Regions from separate parts of the Homo sapiens genome. Here region 2 is linked to region 1. Evidence: promoter capture Hi-C in 16 types of primary human blood cells and fetal thymus (Javierre and others, 2016). All regions are on one chromosome and are shown on one strand. Each heading gives the region's core, a stretch centred on a gene start or on the middle of the fragment in contact. The rest is flanking DNA. Distances are from core to core; before and after follow the strand shown. Region 1 holds the start of ASCC3 (activating signal cointegrator 1 complex subunit 3). Region 2 overlaps PHIP (PHIP subunit of CUL4-Ring ligase complex).

Region 1 (3,986 bases), core at 573-3,072:
ACAAAAAGGCAAAATGGGGCCCGTAATCCCAGCACTTTGGGAGGCCGATGCAGGAGGACTGCTTGAGCCTAGGGGTTCCAGAGATACACAGGAGATCAATCAGACCAAAGTGAAGACTGGAAAGAAACTGATTTCTACCTCAAAAGAAAAAGCTTTTTATTTATTTATTTTTTTTGAGGTAGAAACTGAGGTAGAACTGTGAACTTTATATTTAAACAAGCTTTGAAAAAGAAAAACTTACTCTTCTGAAATGGCAAACCACTGGTACATATACTACTTTTTGATCAAAGGCAATATCAAATCATGCTGTTAAAGCAAGATCATCTGTTCCCCTTTCAATGCCAATTACATATATACATTGACAATAACTTTTTCTTTTAAAAGCTTTGTTTTGGTTAACTACAGATCCATGGCATGAGAAAGAACCCTAGTCAAGATTCTGTCTTAAAAGGAGGCTGCTGGATTATAGAAAGTTCATGAGCACAGAGACTGTCTCTCTCTTGCTCTCCTAGGCCTAGCCCAGCGTTTGACACATAGGAAGACTTGAATGAATGAATGACAAAAAACTGTTAAGCAGGGATCAAGAAAGCTGAACCATGAAAAATTAATTTCTCATATAAATAGGATTATTTAGCCTAAGCTTAAGAGCATCTTTAAGGATCATTTTTCTCATGCAAGACTATTATAACCATCATTAAAAAAAAGAGACAACATAAACTGGAGCACAATCCATAGTAAAACCAAAAGCTTAATTCTCAACATTTGAGAACTTTGAGAATCAGAAAAAGGATTTCAATCTATGAAACATAAAATCTGGTGATGGAGAAAATGGCTGTCAATCTCACCTAACCTAGGGAAAGAAAGAAAATGTAACCATGAGTTTGAATGCACAAGTGACAACACATCAAACTTTTACCAGCCCCTAGAATTATGCTTCTTTTAAACCAAAGAATAGCAAATACCATTAGCACACTGCATTCCATGAGTAAGTTAATTTATAAGAAACCTATTTGAAATGACTGCCCAGTACTCACAAAACCTCCCTAGCACCCACATACACATTTATTTATTTCAAAATGACATTATAGGCTCCTTGATTGCGAAATTCACCCACAATCCATCACGGTCAGCTACCTATTTACTTTCCAGTGTGTTGGGGGAAAAATATGAGGAAGATTTCTTTCCCCAAATCTACGTGAAGAAAACGAAGTTATCAAGGCTTTGTAACAGAAAAAAAGAAAACAAATTACCCATGCATGGGACAGAAAAACCTCATCTGGTCACGTTGTGGCTTAACACTTGGACAATATGTAGCTTAGGTTAAGTTTTCTATCCCCAACCCCACCTACAAACTCTAGGAATGGGCGGTATTGTTGCGAGACCCCGGACTCGACCTCATGCCACTGAAAAGGATGACAGGTCGGGACTTGCCCCGGAGGCAGGAAGAGAATCTCTGGCGGGTCGCGTAGCCCGCCTCGCCGTCCCCGCCTCCAGCCAGCTCCCCTGGCCGCGGCGACCCTTCTCGTCCTCCCACCTCCACCTCCACCTCCTCACCTCTCGGCCTGGCTCACGCGTTTCCCATCACTCTGTCAGCTCCTGCCACCGCGCCTTCTTCCCTTTCGGTTTTACTTTAACTTCCCACGCCGGGTGAGGAGCTGAGCGCAGGGCCAAAGATGCGAGCGGGCAGCTGTATCGCCGCGCCCCGTCCGCCCTCCAAGCCGCGCTTGCCGGGGTCGCGCCCAGTCACAGGGAACCGCGTGTGAGGACCATCAGTCAGACAGACAGACGCAAAGACGCACAGACCCGGCGAGGAGGGACAGAGTGGAGCTGGCGCCGGCCTACACGTCACCGCCCCGCTGCAGCGCCAACGTCGGCACGTCGACTCGTCGACTCCGGGCCCTCTGCCCCGCCCGCGTGCGCGCGCCGCTCCGCCTCCCGCCTCCAGCCTCTAGTCCGCTGGGTTCGGAGGAGCAGAGGCGGAAGGTCCCGGCGGCGGCGAGGATGCGCCCCAGGGCGGGAGCGGGACGCTCCACTTTACCCTGGCTGCCCGCAACGGGCCAGGCCTGCCGTCTCTACCTCTCTACCTGTGAGTTTTTTCCCTGCATTTACTTCAGTCTGCCGCGTCTTCTCCCCGCCCTTCTCTGTAAGGTAAATATGTGGAGGAAATAATTCCTATTAAAGGTAAAGGAAAGGAGAGCAATTTGAATGAAGAAACAGGTAGTTGCTATCGTCGTTTTCAGCCAAAGCCCTCTGGCTGCTAGAGAGTATACATGGTTCTCTGGTGTCAAGGCCTGTTTTCCATAAGCTTTCTGGATTCTCAGCTTAGTTCCCTCAAAGTGATCTCTGCAAGTCGGCTCTTCGGTCAGAAGACCTCCTCCAAAAACAGAAAGCCCAAAGATTCCCTAACTCGATTGAAAAGATAGGAAGATACGAAGAAAAACTAACCTAAAGAATTGTGTGGTTTATCTGCAAAGAGTTCTAGACTAAAAGCCAACAATGCAAAGATAGTATGAGTTAATATGTTTGTTGTGGCTCTCTTCTGCCATTCCCGCTTCCTCAAGGTAATGTGCCCCGATGCCTGGTAGAACTGTTTTGTAGAGGCAGCCAATAGTGATCCAGTTATTGTCTTTACTGGTCAGACCACCTCTGAAGTGCTGTGTTCAGCATTTGAAGACTTTAATCAAGCTGGCATTATATCAGGGAAGAGCAAAATGATGACGAGAACTCAAAAACAGGGCAAGTGAAGAAGGATTGATTAAACCTTCCAGGACTCACCTAGAAGAGAGAAAACTACTGGACTCTCTCCAAATATGAAATGACCTATCATGTGAAGTTGATTTGTTTCATGTGATGCAAACTTCAGGGAACAGATTTAAGATCCTGAAAAGAAGATGCCCTTGTAGCACGACCCAAAGAATTGCCTACCTTAGCATGTGTGAATACCTCAACCACAGAATTTTGCTTCAAGGAGATTCTGAAGCTCACTTAATAGGGACTTGGTACAGGGGAGCCACACATCAACAGAATAATTAGTTGATGGTTTTGTTAAAGATATTTCCAGTCTTGAGATTACATGTGTCTTTGGTCCTGGACTTCATAGAGTTTACAAGTTAGTTCATGAGACAAGACAAATGCATCACAAAAATAAATAATGCAAGGAGGCCAAGTGATAATGAGAGGTGCTGATAAGTGCTAGGAATTCACATGACAGATTATTCCCATCACAGTTCCAGAGGCTTAAGGGAGAAGAGAGGAACTGAAAATAGACTACCTAGAACTGCCCTATCCATTGGGGTAGCCACCAGTTAAATACGTCTCTTGACATTTGAAATGTGGCTTGTCCAAACTGAGACATGCAATGAGTCCAAAATGTACACCAGATTTCAAAGACTTAGAAAACAAATGTAAAATATTGTAATTCTTATGTCGATTACATGTTGAAATAATATATAATGGATCAAATAAAATATGTTAAAATTAATTTCAACTTTATTTTTACTTTTTATGTGACTTCTAGAAAATTTTTAATTACATAGGTGGCTTGCATCATATTTGTATTACATAGTCCTGGCCTGGAAGGAAATTCAGTTAGCCCTCTGTATCCATGGCTTCTGTATATGTGTCAACCAACTTTGGAACAAAAACAATTGAAAAAAAAAAAAAAAAAGAATGGTAATGTCTGCATTGAACACGCACAGACTCTTTTTTTCTTGTCATTATTTCCTTAACAATATGGATGTAACAACTGTTTACATAGCATTTCCCATTGTATTAGGTATTATAAGTAACCTAGAGATGGTTTAAGGTATATGGGACAATGTGCATAGTTTGTATGCAAATACTATACCATTGTGTGTAAGGACTTGAGCATCCTGGGGTTTTGGTATGTGGGAGTGTCCTGGAACCAATCCCCTGTGGACACTGAGGGATGGTCTTACTTCATTGAACTCTAAGAGCTATCTTTGTCCTCTTTATAGTCCCCAGGG
Region 2 (3,986 bases), core at 848-3,347, about 22 Mb before region 1:
AAACAGAAGTCAAGACATCTCTTCTCTGACAGTTTCCAAAAAGAATACAAACTATTGTGATGGTTGTAAATCTCACAAATAACTGTATAGAAGGAGGCAGACGCCATAGCCAAATTCTCTTCATATATTCCTAAATGTCATTTGATGATTACCCAAAGAAAAAAAGCTTTGCATATTCTCTAATCCATTCAGGATATGTCAACCACCCAAATTATTTCTTAATGTTCAGTGTTCCATAAAAACAAGTCACAGTAGAAATCAGTAGCACAATTTTTCCAGAGGTCTATCCACAATGCCTTAACCATGATTTATTTTTGGTATTAAACATTTTTCCTTTATTTTTTAGACCTGTTTCATCCTTGAGTCTATAAAGTAATTATAGTATCTTCCGAAGATTTTTTTTTTCTTTTCTTGAGACAGGGTATCACTGTGTCACCCACGCTGGAGGGCAGTGGCATGGGGCACAGCTTATTGCAGCTTCAACCTCCCTGGGCTCAGGCGATCCTCTCACCTCAGCCTTCGGGGTAATTGGGACTACAGGCATGCGCCACTACACCTGGCTAATTTTTTTTTTTAGTTTTTGTAGAGATGGGGTTTTCCATTTTGTCCAGGCTGGTCTCCAACTCATGGCCTCCCAAAGTACTGGGATTACAGGCATGAGCCACCACACCTGGACTCTTCTGAAGTTTTAATGTGGCCTTTTTATACTGCAGATTCTATGTTCAGAAAGTATATACATACTTGTGCCTGGAATAAAAATGTAAATGCTTTTCTTAAAGAAAACTTTATTATAAAGCTCTAAGCAGAACAACCTTTACTACCACTACTAAAGTTCTGATAATAGCAAACCAAAACCCTTACATAGTACTTGATTCATGCCAGTTATTACTCACAGACCACACAAAGTAGAAGCTATTATTAGCCCATTTTACAGAATGGAAAACAGACTCCCTCAATACGATTCTGCCTCACAACAATCAAATAAAAACCATTATGGTTTGGGAAAGGGACATTCCAGCTCCCGCTTTATGCTCATGCCGCTTTACAACTATTTAAGAATATTAACAATATAGTAAGTATTGCATTTAAAAAGTTTGTAAATGCCTCAAATTTTAAAAAATGGTATAAGCATCAATAGAATAATTCTATATGTAAGAAAGAATGAAGAATGCTCCTTCAGCCTCTCAGCAACATATTCACACCTAACATTTTATTCATCATATAACCCTTCACGCCTAACATATTTTATTCATCATTATAACGACCATATGAGATTAAAGCTGTTTTAGAGACTACCACGCAAAGCTTCTATTTCATTGATACTCTACTAAAAAAGGAAATAGTAACTCTACTACAACTACACACATTTACTTTATTACATGTTCACCCAACCCCAAAAAATTATAATAATCAAGTGTTGAAACTATGTTATCTTCAATATAGAATGGGAATCCCTACTTCTAAAACATTTAATATGATATCTTTTTTTTTTCCCTGAAAGTTGTCTCTAGGTTTTATACCTTAACTTTCACATTAATCAGCACACACTAAATAAATGTATACCTAAGATATATACTTAAATAAATCCTATCCATCATTCCTATTCATCTCTGAATTTGAGACCAACAATAATGAAAACTAGTACTTAAACTATGATGGAAATCATGGTAATTTTGGGGCATTTTACAACGTAGTTAGTGTCTCAAATCATCTTTGCAACAAGAAATGATATTACCACCAAAGAATGGCACTATGAAAAGCATTTATATAATTTTGTAACCTATGTGATTTCTACTTTTCTGTGTTTTGGAAAACTAAGCTCTAAGAATGAAATAAAGCTTAGTTCTTAAATACAATGTACTGCTATTTCTAGTTCAAAATCACAGATTTTCAGATTGAAAAAATTTCAATCCACTTATTTTTCAAATGAGATAACTGGGACAAAGAGAAATTCCATGACTTGCCCAAGATTACCTACAGTTTAACTGTCAGCGGGGCTTAAAACCACAATCCACATCTCCTGACTCCCAATCCTTTCACTTAAAACAAACAAGCAAACAAACAAAAAAGATTTCTAATAAAGTGGAATAATTTTAAGAAAGGCAAGTATCACTATTTTACAAGGAAAAAATTAAATCATTTTAACAGATTGGCAAAACATGAACTAGTTCTTGGGGGGAAAAAAGAGAAGTCTTACAAGAAAAAATGTAATCAAGAGAGTGCCAAATTCGGTAAAATGCTTGAAAATTCTGCCTCTAGATCTCGTAAATATGCAATCATCATTAAGTGACAACTAGAAAGCAGACTTAATAAACTAACTAGATTCACTATTCAAACTAAGAAATAAACAAATGACAAAGCTTTCCTTTCGTCCAAAAAAAGTTTTTTATTCTACAGTTTAAGAATTCTGATACTTGGAAAAAGTGCCCCTTTTCTTTAAAATAAATCTCATATTTTAAAAAATGTAAAATCTAATTAAACGTATACCATAGTACCAAAAACAACTTTTAGCTTCCTATCCAATTCCATTTACTTTGTTAAAAATGTTTTAAATCTTAAGGTAGATGGTGATAATCAGTCATGTTTTATACCAGAGACAGAAACAACCATAAGATACGACCATTTCCTTTCTCAATCACACTTGAAATGAACGCATCAATTTTAACCTGCAAACTTTTAAAACTGCTCTTAAAATTCTACTTTCCTCTTGATTAAAATTCAACCATTGCGATTGTAACTAGACTAACTACAGATGATCAGTGACTATTTTTAAATTCACATCTACAAATATTACACCCCATTTTAAGCAGCAATAATTTGAGGTTTCCTAGAAATTTCAATGCGATGTGATATATGAGTTCTCCCATTTAAAATATTGCTCAGTTTATTAGTTAATACAACAAATCATTTCCAGGTAGAGTAGAAACTAATGACTCAACAAGTAATTTTCAAATCAATGTTAAATAAATTCAACTCGATATACAACAACGTAAAACTTTTTAAGTCAGAATAATTAAAATAGAAAATACTGTACAAGAGACTTTGCATGTGCTGACTTAGATATTAAACAGCGAGATCAACTATTGAACAAAAAAATCCAGTGTTCCAAATGTTTTTAGACCTAACTAAATCTCAACTAAAAAGGTAAAATAAAGTTAACTCACACACCTAGATATACAGTTTGATGGATGAGAAAGCACCTCAAATGGTACCTTGCATCCAGTAGATATAGAGTAAGCAATATGCTGAATGAATGAAAAGAGAAAACGAGTCAAAGAACTCCAAGTTCTAATAAGATTTCTAAACTGTCTGATGAGTATGCCAACGTTCCTGTTCTAGTAAGGAGAAAACTCCAAGCAAGAAAAACCACTTCCATTCAAAATAGGTGAATTTTGAGCATAATACATAGATAGAAAGAATGCTTACTGTATCTTAAATCTGCGATGCAGACTAGGGATAGAAATTCACTTTACTAATAATTCCTCCCCCCACCCTCCCCCCAAAAATTAAATTAACTCAAAATCAAAATTGATAGCTCATTTTTACTGAAAAAAAAAACAAAAAAACAAAATGATATTCCTACGAGGATTAGCCATTACCATAATTTAGCCAGATAACATTAAGCTGCTTCATTTAAAAAATGTAACATTACCAAAAGATTAAGAAAATGCAGCATTCCTCAGTGACTTAAGGTTTGTGGGTTTTTAAGAGATGCACAGATGTAAAAGCAGATGCAAAGACGAGTTTTGTAAAACCTGCCCCATCTTAAAAATGGAGTATTATAATCTTTGCGATAATTTTTTCAAATATCAAGGAAGACATGTAAATTCACTGAAGACTTCTATCAAGTATTTGTAAACCTAAAAATTAATTTCAAATTAGTAAATCTTGGAGTTTACTTCCAGCTCCATTCACTTTGGCCAAGAATTGAATGAAAGTAACCCAAATCACTCCTTGAAAATTAACACACGTTCAGTGTGAAAATG

The links. Contacts are between HindIII fragments. The CHiCAGO score rates a contact against its expected background, and 5 or more counts as called.
Region 2: a fragment that was not itself captured here is called in contact with the fragment with the promoter of ASCC3 in region 1 in 1 of 17 cell types (activated CD4 T cells); the score reaches 10.2 in activated CD4 T cells.

What each region holds. Positions count from the first base shown.
Region 1 is chr6:100,879,507-100,883,492 of GRCh38, forward strand. It overlaps ASCC3 (activating signal cointegrator 1 complex subunit 3), which reads right to left and starts at 1,823. Exons shown (of 42, transcript NM_006828.4): 1 at 1,555-1,823. LOC107984041 (a long non-coding RNA gene) reads left to right here and starts at 1,951. Exons shown (of 8, transcript XR_007059692.1): 1 at 1,951-2,148. RefSeq lists an enhancer at 1,667-1,786. The HindIII fragment of the contact is 1,558 bases long and covers 746-2,303 here.
Region 2 is chr6:79,072,087-79,076,072 of GRCh38, forward strand. The region is part of intron 4 of PHIP (PHIP subunit of CUL4-Ring ligase complex); the gene reads right to left. LOC124901346 (a long non-coding RNA gene) reads left to right here. Exons shown (of 2, transcript XR_007059652.1): 2 at 1-3,986. Among named protein-coding and RNA genes, the nearest start is that of PHIP, 4.2 kb to the right of the region's middle. The HindIII fragment of the contact is 522 bases long and covers 1,837-2,358 here.